Linked DNA regions of Homo sapiens: region 1 is linked to region 2. The links are contacts of gene promoters, found by promoter capture Hi-C in human tissues and cell types (Jung and others, 2019). All regions are on one chromosome and are shown on one strand. Each heading gives the region's core, a stretch centred on a gene start or on the middle of the fragment in contact. The rest is flanking DNA. Distances are from core to core; before and after follow the strand shown.

What was found. Contacts are between HindIII fragments. The study calls those that stand out against the background at their distance.
Region 1: a contact is called between a fragment that was not itself captured here and the fragment with the promoter of NPSR1 in region 2, in 2 of the 25 tissues and cell types used here (H1 embryonic stem cells and hippocampus).

The regions. Positions count from the first base shown.
Region 1 is chr7:34,787,701-34,791,899 of GRCh38, reverse strand. The region is part of intron 3 of NPSR1 (neuropeptide S receptor 1); the gene reads right to left. It also overlaps a transcript of NPSR1-AS1 not described here. Among named protein-coding and RNA genes, the nearest start is that of NPSR1-AS1, 32 kb to the right of the region's middle. The HindIII fragment of the contact is 4,598 bases long and covers 68-4,199 here.
Region 2 is chr7:34,656,345-34,660,189 of GRCh38, reverse strand. NPSR1 (neuropeptide S receptor 1) reads right to left here and starts at 1,972. Exons shown (of 9, transcript NM_207172.2): 1 at 1,631-1,972. The coding sequence starts at 1,777. All of the region lies in intron 2 of NPSR1-AS1 (NPSR1 antisense RNA 1), which reads left to right. The HindIII fragment of the contact is 11,658 bases long and covers 1-3,845 here.

The DNA.
Region 1 (4,199 bases), core at 1,117-3,616, 130 kb before region 2:
ATACATGGATTTATTTCTGGCTTCTTTATTCTGTTTCATCTGTCTATATGTCTGCCTTCATGCCAGTACAACACTGTTTCGATTACTGTAGCTTCATAATATATTTTTGTAAGCAGGAAGTGTGATGCCTTGAGCTTTGTTCTTTCTCAAGTTAACACTGGCAATTCTGGGACTTTTGTGATTTAATTTGAATTTTTGATTTTTTTTAATTTCTGTAAAACATGCTGTTGGGATTTTGATAGGGAATGCATTGAATCTGTAGATAGCTTTGATTTATAGACACTTTAAAGTATTAAGTCTGTATATTTATGAAAACAGGATGCCTTTCCAATTTTTGCCTAGTTTAATTTCTTTCATCAATATATTATAGTTTTTTTGTATAAGTCTATCACCTACTTGATTAACTTCATTTCTACGTATTTTATTCTTTTTGGAGTTATTGTAAATAGATTCTATTTTTTTTTGGATAGTTCATTGTTAGTGTATAGAAACATTACTGACTTTGCATGTTGATTTTGTATCCTGCAACTATAGTAAATTCATTTGTTAGTTTTAACAGTTTTTGGTGGTGTTTTGTGTTTTGTGTATATATATTATATATTTTATATATTATCTATATTATATATAACTTATAACATATAATATATAACATATAACATATATAATATAATATATAACATATAACATATATAATATAATATATAACATATAACATATATAATATAATATATAACATATATAATATATAACATATTATATATAATATATAACATATATATTATATTATATAACATATTATATATAATATATATAACATATAACATATATAATATAATATATAACATATAACATATATAATATAATATATAACATATAACATATATAATATAACATATAACATATAACATATATAATATAACATATAACATATATAATATAACATATAACATATATGATATATAATATAACATATAACATATATGATATATAATATAACATATAACATATATGATATATAATATAACATATAACATATATAACATAACATATAACATATATATAACATAACATATAACCTATAACATATATAACATATAACCTATAACATATATATAACATATAACATATATTATATATAACATATAACATATATTATATATAACATATAACATATAACATATATTATATATAACATAGAACATATATTATATATAACATAGAACATATAACATATATTTATAACATAATACATATTATATATAAATTATATATTTTATATATATGTAGGATCAGGTCATCTTCAAACAGAAAATTTAAGTTTGTCCTTTCTGATGTGAATGCCTTTCTTTTTTCTTTTCTTTTTTTCTTGCCTTACTTCTTTGGCTAGAACTTCCAGTACTATGTTGAATAGAAGTTGCAATAGTGAGCATTCTTATCTTGTTCCTAATCTTAGAAGAAAAGCTTTTAGTTTACCACTGTTGACTGTGATGTTAGCAGTGGACTTGTCATATGTGGTCTTTATTTGTTGAAGCACTTCTCTTCTGTACCTAATTTGTTGAGCATTTTTACTACAAAAAGATATTGAATTTTGTCACGATGTTTTTCTGCATCTATTAAGATGATCATATGCCTTTTATCTTTCATTTTGTTAATGTGGCATGTCACATTTATTAATTTGTGTATGTTAAACTATTGTTGCATTCCAGGAATAAATTACACTTAATCATGGTGAATAATATTTCAAGTGTGCTATTGAAATATGTTTGCTAGTATTTTGTTGAGGATTTTTAAACCTATGTTCATCAGGGTTATTGCCCTGTAATTTTCTCATAGTATCTTGTCTGACTTTGTTATCAGAGTAATGCTGACTTTGTAACATGAGTTTGGAAGTAAACACTTTTTTCACTTTTTTGGGGGAAGACTTTGAGAAAGATTGCTATTAGTTCTTCTCTAAGTGTTTGGTAGAATTTTGCAGTGAAGCCATCTGATCCTGGTCTTTTCTTGGAATGGAAACATTTTATTACTGATTAAATCTCCTTAGTATTGGTGTGTTCAGATTTTCCATTCCTTCAATACTCAAAGTCTTGGTAGTTTTTGTGTATCTAGGAACTTATCCATTTCCTCTAGGTTATCTATTTTTTTTTTTTTTTTTTTTTTTTGCGCACTGCAACTTCTGCCTCCTGGGTTCAAGCAATTCTCTTGCCTCAGCCTCCTGAGTAGTTGGGATTACAGGGGCCCGCCACCACACCTGGCTAATTTTTGTATCTTTAGTAGAGACGGGGTTTCTGCATGTTGGTCAGGCTGGTGTCAAACTCCTGACCTCAGGTGATCTGCCTGCCTCAGCCTCCCGAAGTGCTGGGATTACAGGCATGAGCCACTACGCCTGGCTGACATTTAGTTTTTCATAGTCGCTTGTTATGATGCTTTTTGTTTCTATGGTATCAGTTGTAATGTCTCAGCTTTCATTTCTAATTTTATTTGAGTTTTCTTCTTTTTCCTAGTTATTCTAGCTAAAGGTTTGTCAATTTTATCTTTTCAAAGAACTAACTCTTCATTGATCTTTTCTATTGTTTTTCTATTCTCCATTTGTTTTCTTTCTTCTCTAATTTTTATTATTTCTCCCTTTTTATGAAAGGGAAACCCTGACTCTTCTTCTTCTTCTAGTTACTTAAGTTGTAATATTAGGTTATTTATTTTAAATCTTTTGTTTGATGTAGGTATTTATTGGTATAAACTCCCCTCTTAGACCTGCTTTTGTTGCATCCCATAAGCTTTGTTATGATGTGTTTTCATTTTCATTTATCTTAAGATATTTTAAATTTTTGCTTTTAATTTCTTCTTTGACCTATTGATTGTTGAGGAGTCTCTTGTTTAATTTTCACGTTTGTAACATTTTTGAAATTCCTTATATTATTGATTACTAGTTTCATGTCATTGTTTTTGAAAAAATAATTTATATATTTCAATCTTAATTTTGTTGTGACTTGTTTTGTGGCTTACTCTATGATTATCCTGGAGAATGTTCCTTGGGTGCTTCAAAAGATTATATATTCTGCTGCCACTAGGTGAAATGTTCTATATGTGTCTATTAGGTCCATTTGGTCTAAAGTGTAGTTTAAATCCAATCGTTCTTTACTGATTATCTGTCTAGATAATCTGTTTATTAAAAGTGGGATTTTGAAGACCTATGATTTTATTGCAGTCTATTTCTCTCTTCAGGTCTATTAATATTTGCTTTATATATTTAGGTGATCCAGTGTAGGGTCCATATATATTTATAACTGTTATTTCTTCCTGATGAAATAATCCGTTTATTATTATGCAATGACCTTATTTGCCCTGTTTTACTGTTATTGACTTAAAGTCTATTCTATGTGATGTAAATGTAGCAACCCCTCATCTATTTTGGTTTCCACTTGCATGGAATATCTTTTTTCCATTTTTACTTTCAGTTATATGTGCCCTAAATTGCCATTTTAATAATTATATTCTGGCTATCATATATTTTTTTTCTGTCTTCCACTCTTTCTGCTTTGTGTGTTTTTTTTCCTTTCTTCTATTTTTCCTGTCTTCTTCTGTGGTTGATGCTTTTCTCTAATGGTATGCTTTGATTCCTTACTTTTTATCTTTCATGTATCTACTACAGGTTTTGCTTTGTGGTTACCTTGAGACTTACAAAGGAATGTCTTATAACGAGCGATTTTAAAATGATAACTTAACTCTGATTACACACAAAAACTCTACACTTTTACTCTACCACCCCCATTTTAGTTTTTGATGTCACAATTTAAATTTTTTATATAGTATATCCCTTAACACACTACAAATATACCTCATTTTGTCATGATTTACTTTATTGTTCTTCACAGATAGTGCATTTTTTTTACAAATTGAAGGTTTGTGGCAACCCTGTGTTGAGCAAGTCTGTCATTTTTCCAGCACTATGTGTTTATTTCATGTCTGTGTCATATTTTGGTTATTTTGAGCTTTTTCATTATTGTTATTATTACGTCCATTAAGGCTATCTGTGATCAAGTGATGTTTGATGATACTATTGTAATTGTTTTGTGGTGCTGTAAATCACATCCATATAAGGTGACAAACTTAACTGATAAATGTTGTGTGCATACTGACAGCTCCACCAACTGGTTGTTCCTCCATCTGTCTCCCTCTCCTCAGCTGTTCCTATTCTCTGAGAC
Region 2 (3,845 bases), core at 723-3,222:
TGCAAACATATCAATAGGAATCAGCTAGAGATGCTGTGATTCTCTTTAGTGTCTGGCGATGATGTTGCTAGGATAGAGAGGACAAACACTCATAGAGAGCAAGGTGGGATTTGTTTCTTCACATATTCCAAATATCCCTGTAGGTGCTATATTCAAAAAATGGCAAATGAGATTTCAGCTGAGATTGATTCTTGCCAGAGTCTCAGAATAACCACCTTATTGCTGATTTTATTCCCTTTGCAATGGAGGGCCTCTCTTCATTCTGCTTGCTATCATGTTCTAAGAATATCAAAGAGGCTACACAGGCAGCAATACTGAGTGGAGTCCTGTGCTTCCTGGGTGCACACAGCCTGCCAAGACAGACTCTCTGGGTCTGCAGGCTGATTTCATAAAGGGGATTATTCAGTCGACATTAAGTGGCAACAAACTCTAATTTTACTTTCTAAGCTACATCGTGGAGCTGTGCAGCTGGGCTGCGTATGTGCATATGCATTAGGAGGTGATTCCAAGGGACAGGGTTTCACTGAAGCCAGTGGAGGAGTAGTTTGCTCAGGTTCTGCTTTGCTGCAGGATCATTAGGGCCCTGGAAGTTTAAGTCTGACTCCTGGGACAGCACCCTGCTGAAAGTTTTATTCTGAATATTTGCAAAAGAAGTGAACTTCCAGTAGGGAGGTGGATGTTACAGTAATGCTATCTCATTGTGTAAAAACCAAATCATTTCAAGAACATACAGAGGATTAACAACAACAACAACAACAAAACCCAACAAAGCAACAACTAGAATCTTTTTGAAGTATTTTTTCTTCAGTGGAAAGGACCAGTTTGAGACCTGTGAATTATTGCAATGACTAAACATATCGTTAGACAGGTGTGAAATAACCTGACAACCCAGCATTCTGAGGCAAGAAGCAGGAAACTGTTCTTTTCCCAAATGTGCGGTTCATTTCTGTCCACAAGATCTTGTTGCGGAATAAGAAACAATACAGTATTAGCTTAATGAAGATCCTTCCTCAGTGTGGCCCTTGGATACTTTGAAGGTGAAACTCACCAAACTCTCTGTCCTTCATTTGTTCTAGGAGGTAATTTGTTGCAAATGGTGGCATCATCAACTACCCTCAAAGAAATATATTCCTCACTGATGTTTAATGAAAAGGATCATCAAAGAAAGTGTCGTCCTTCCTGCCTTATTCAATGTTGTTTCTCATCATATCAGTCACTGTCCTGGGGATTGTGAGCTTTCCGCATCTCTGGTGTTCCTAGCAAAAAACTCATAGCTCTAACCCCTACTAGAAACAGACATTTCAAGTACTGCTATAGGATTAATTAAAAGTGCTTTCACCTAAGGAAAGGGGGAAAGTAAAAATCATCCACTCATAAATGTTACTCACGATTCACACATTTCCAGCAGCATCAGAAAGAAAAACGTCACCTGTATTCCTAAGAAACTACAATCTAGGTCTCTGCACACTACAGCTTGTTGTTTTAGCACTTCAGACTTTTAAAAATCCTTTTTAGTAAAGAAAATAACACTCATTCACAATACTGGCTATGATACTTCAATTGACACTCTTAAGTTCCAGCAGTCTCATTGTTATAAGTCAGTGTTCAGAGTCGCAGGCAAGAAACTTACCTTAAAGGAGTAGTAGAAGGAACCCCATTCCTTTCCTTCCACCACTTCAGTAAAAGTCACTGTTTCAGTGCAAGCCACTGGGGAAGAATCCAGCGTCTGCCCGGTCCCACTGGAATCGAAGCTGCCCTCTGTGAAGTTGGCTGGCATGGCTCAGGCGGGGTTGAGCCTCACTGTCCTTGCTCCTGCAGCTGAGTGAGGGAGTCCAGCTTGCCTCCTGAGAGCTGGGCAGCAGCTGCAGCTCTGCTGAACGGAGGCACAGAGCCCTCCCTGAGCCCACCTCACTGAAGAGCTCTGCCTGATGACAGGGAGGATCTACGTGCTGCTCTCTCCTTGGCAATTACCACCAGGTAGCCAGCATAGCACAACCCTCATCACCCCACAGTCCCACCCAGGGCCAGGGCCCCACCCCAAGAGCAAGGTGGAGCTCCCCATAGCCATCGACATGGCTCCCTGGATGAGACCCCTGTTCTGTTTTGCTTTTCCTTACTTCCACGGTGGACCCCCACTTCTGCTCCAGCTTCAACAATAAAGGAATTTGGACTAATCAGTAGGTGCATGAATTCGGGTCATGTTTCCACTTCTGAAATCAAATTATAATTATGCATTTGTTTCAGCTGAGGTTGCTTTCTGACTTAAAGCCTCACCTTGCCATCTACTGTGTCATGTGCTCTTATTTCCGTAAGTGTAGGCAAATAGTACGTTTGTATTTCACACCCTTAGTTCTATCTAGGTGTTCACAGGGCGGTTCTCAGAGAAACATGAGGTCTGTGTTTGTCAATAAGCTACAACACCTTGTGATATGACTGGGAGGGGCCTGGTGAAGATTCTTACTGCTTTCAGTATATTCACCTCAGCTTCTACCTAGGACCAATACTCAGGGCGAGGGTAGAAAGGAGGTAATGCAGCATCCTGGGCACCACAGACAGGGCTAGGCGAGAATACTAACAGCTATTCCTGTTTCACAAAAAACCTGCAAAGCACATTTACACGTTCTTTCATTCAGTTTCCCAAACAACCTTGTGAGATAGGCAGGGAAGGTATCTTTATGTTCTCCTTTATGCTAGCAGAGAGTGGCTCCAATAGGTGAAATGACTTGCCCAAGATCCCGCAGCTGCTGATGTAAATGAGCTGATAACCCATCTCCAGAACTTCCTAGACAGTGGTGCTTTTACTGTAACAGACTGGTTTGCATCAAATCTCAAATGTCTATGGGGCATGAAGGTAACATGAATGAGGGTAGCAGGCCAGGTATAAAACAATGGGAACTAAGCTGCTTATATGACAACCAAGCACAATACCTGATTCCTCACATTGAGAACACTCTGTGAACCAACCAGGTCCAGCCACTGGTTTATGGCACCTGGAATAAGAGGTAGTAGCTTTAGTGGCCACCACTAAAGAACCTGGCCCCCATGAGATCTCCTGGGGAAGCTTTATTATAAACCATCGAGCCCCAAGGAGGGCACAGTGCTCTAGCAATGAGAAGGCATTGAGTCTATAATGAAGGGCAGCAAACAGAAGTGAGTTGTGTAGAAAACTGGATAAGCTGTGGACTCTTAAGGAAAGGTTCAAAACAGGACAACAACTCAATAGCAAAACAAGTGCAGCATATTCCAACTAACAAATGAGTATGAAGATAGGCTCAACCATATTAAAAATTAAGGAAAATAACTAAAACCAGTAAGAATGTTTACCTATTATTATAGTGAAAGCTAGCGTGTGGCTATCCCCAAGTGCTGACAAGATTGAAGGGAAACGGGTGTACATCTTTACTTCTGGTGAGAGTTAGTTGATGTGGTAATTTTTGAAAAGCAATTCAGCAGTATTTAGTAAAGCTGGAATTACATATCCTCTAATGCATTGTTCCATTTCTAGATGCTAATAATTTTTCATCTCTATCTGGGTTACTTACATATGCTCAATTCACATAAATTCTTTGCACTACATACTTAAAACATATGCACTTTTCTGTAGGTATGTTTTACTTCAAGAAAATGTTTATAAGACAAAATCTGTGAGGAACTCCTGGGAGAAGGTAGAAGCTGGTTAGGTCACAGTGTGGTAGGGGCAGAGTGAGAGAAAGTGGCAGATGCCATGGACAGAGAATAGGTGGGGAGAGAGAGCTTTCTGGTTGTTTCCTTTTCTCTCCATTCATGATCCAGATAGACCATTGTTTAACCTGTGGCCACCCAAGAGAAACATTTATGTATCTATA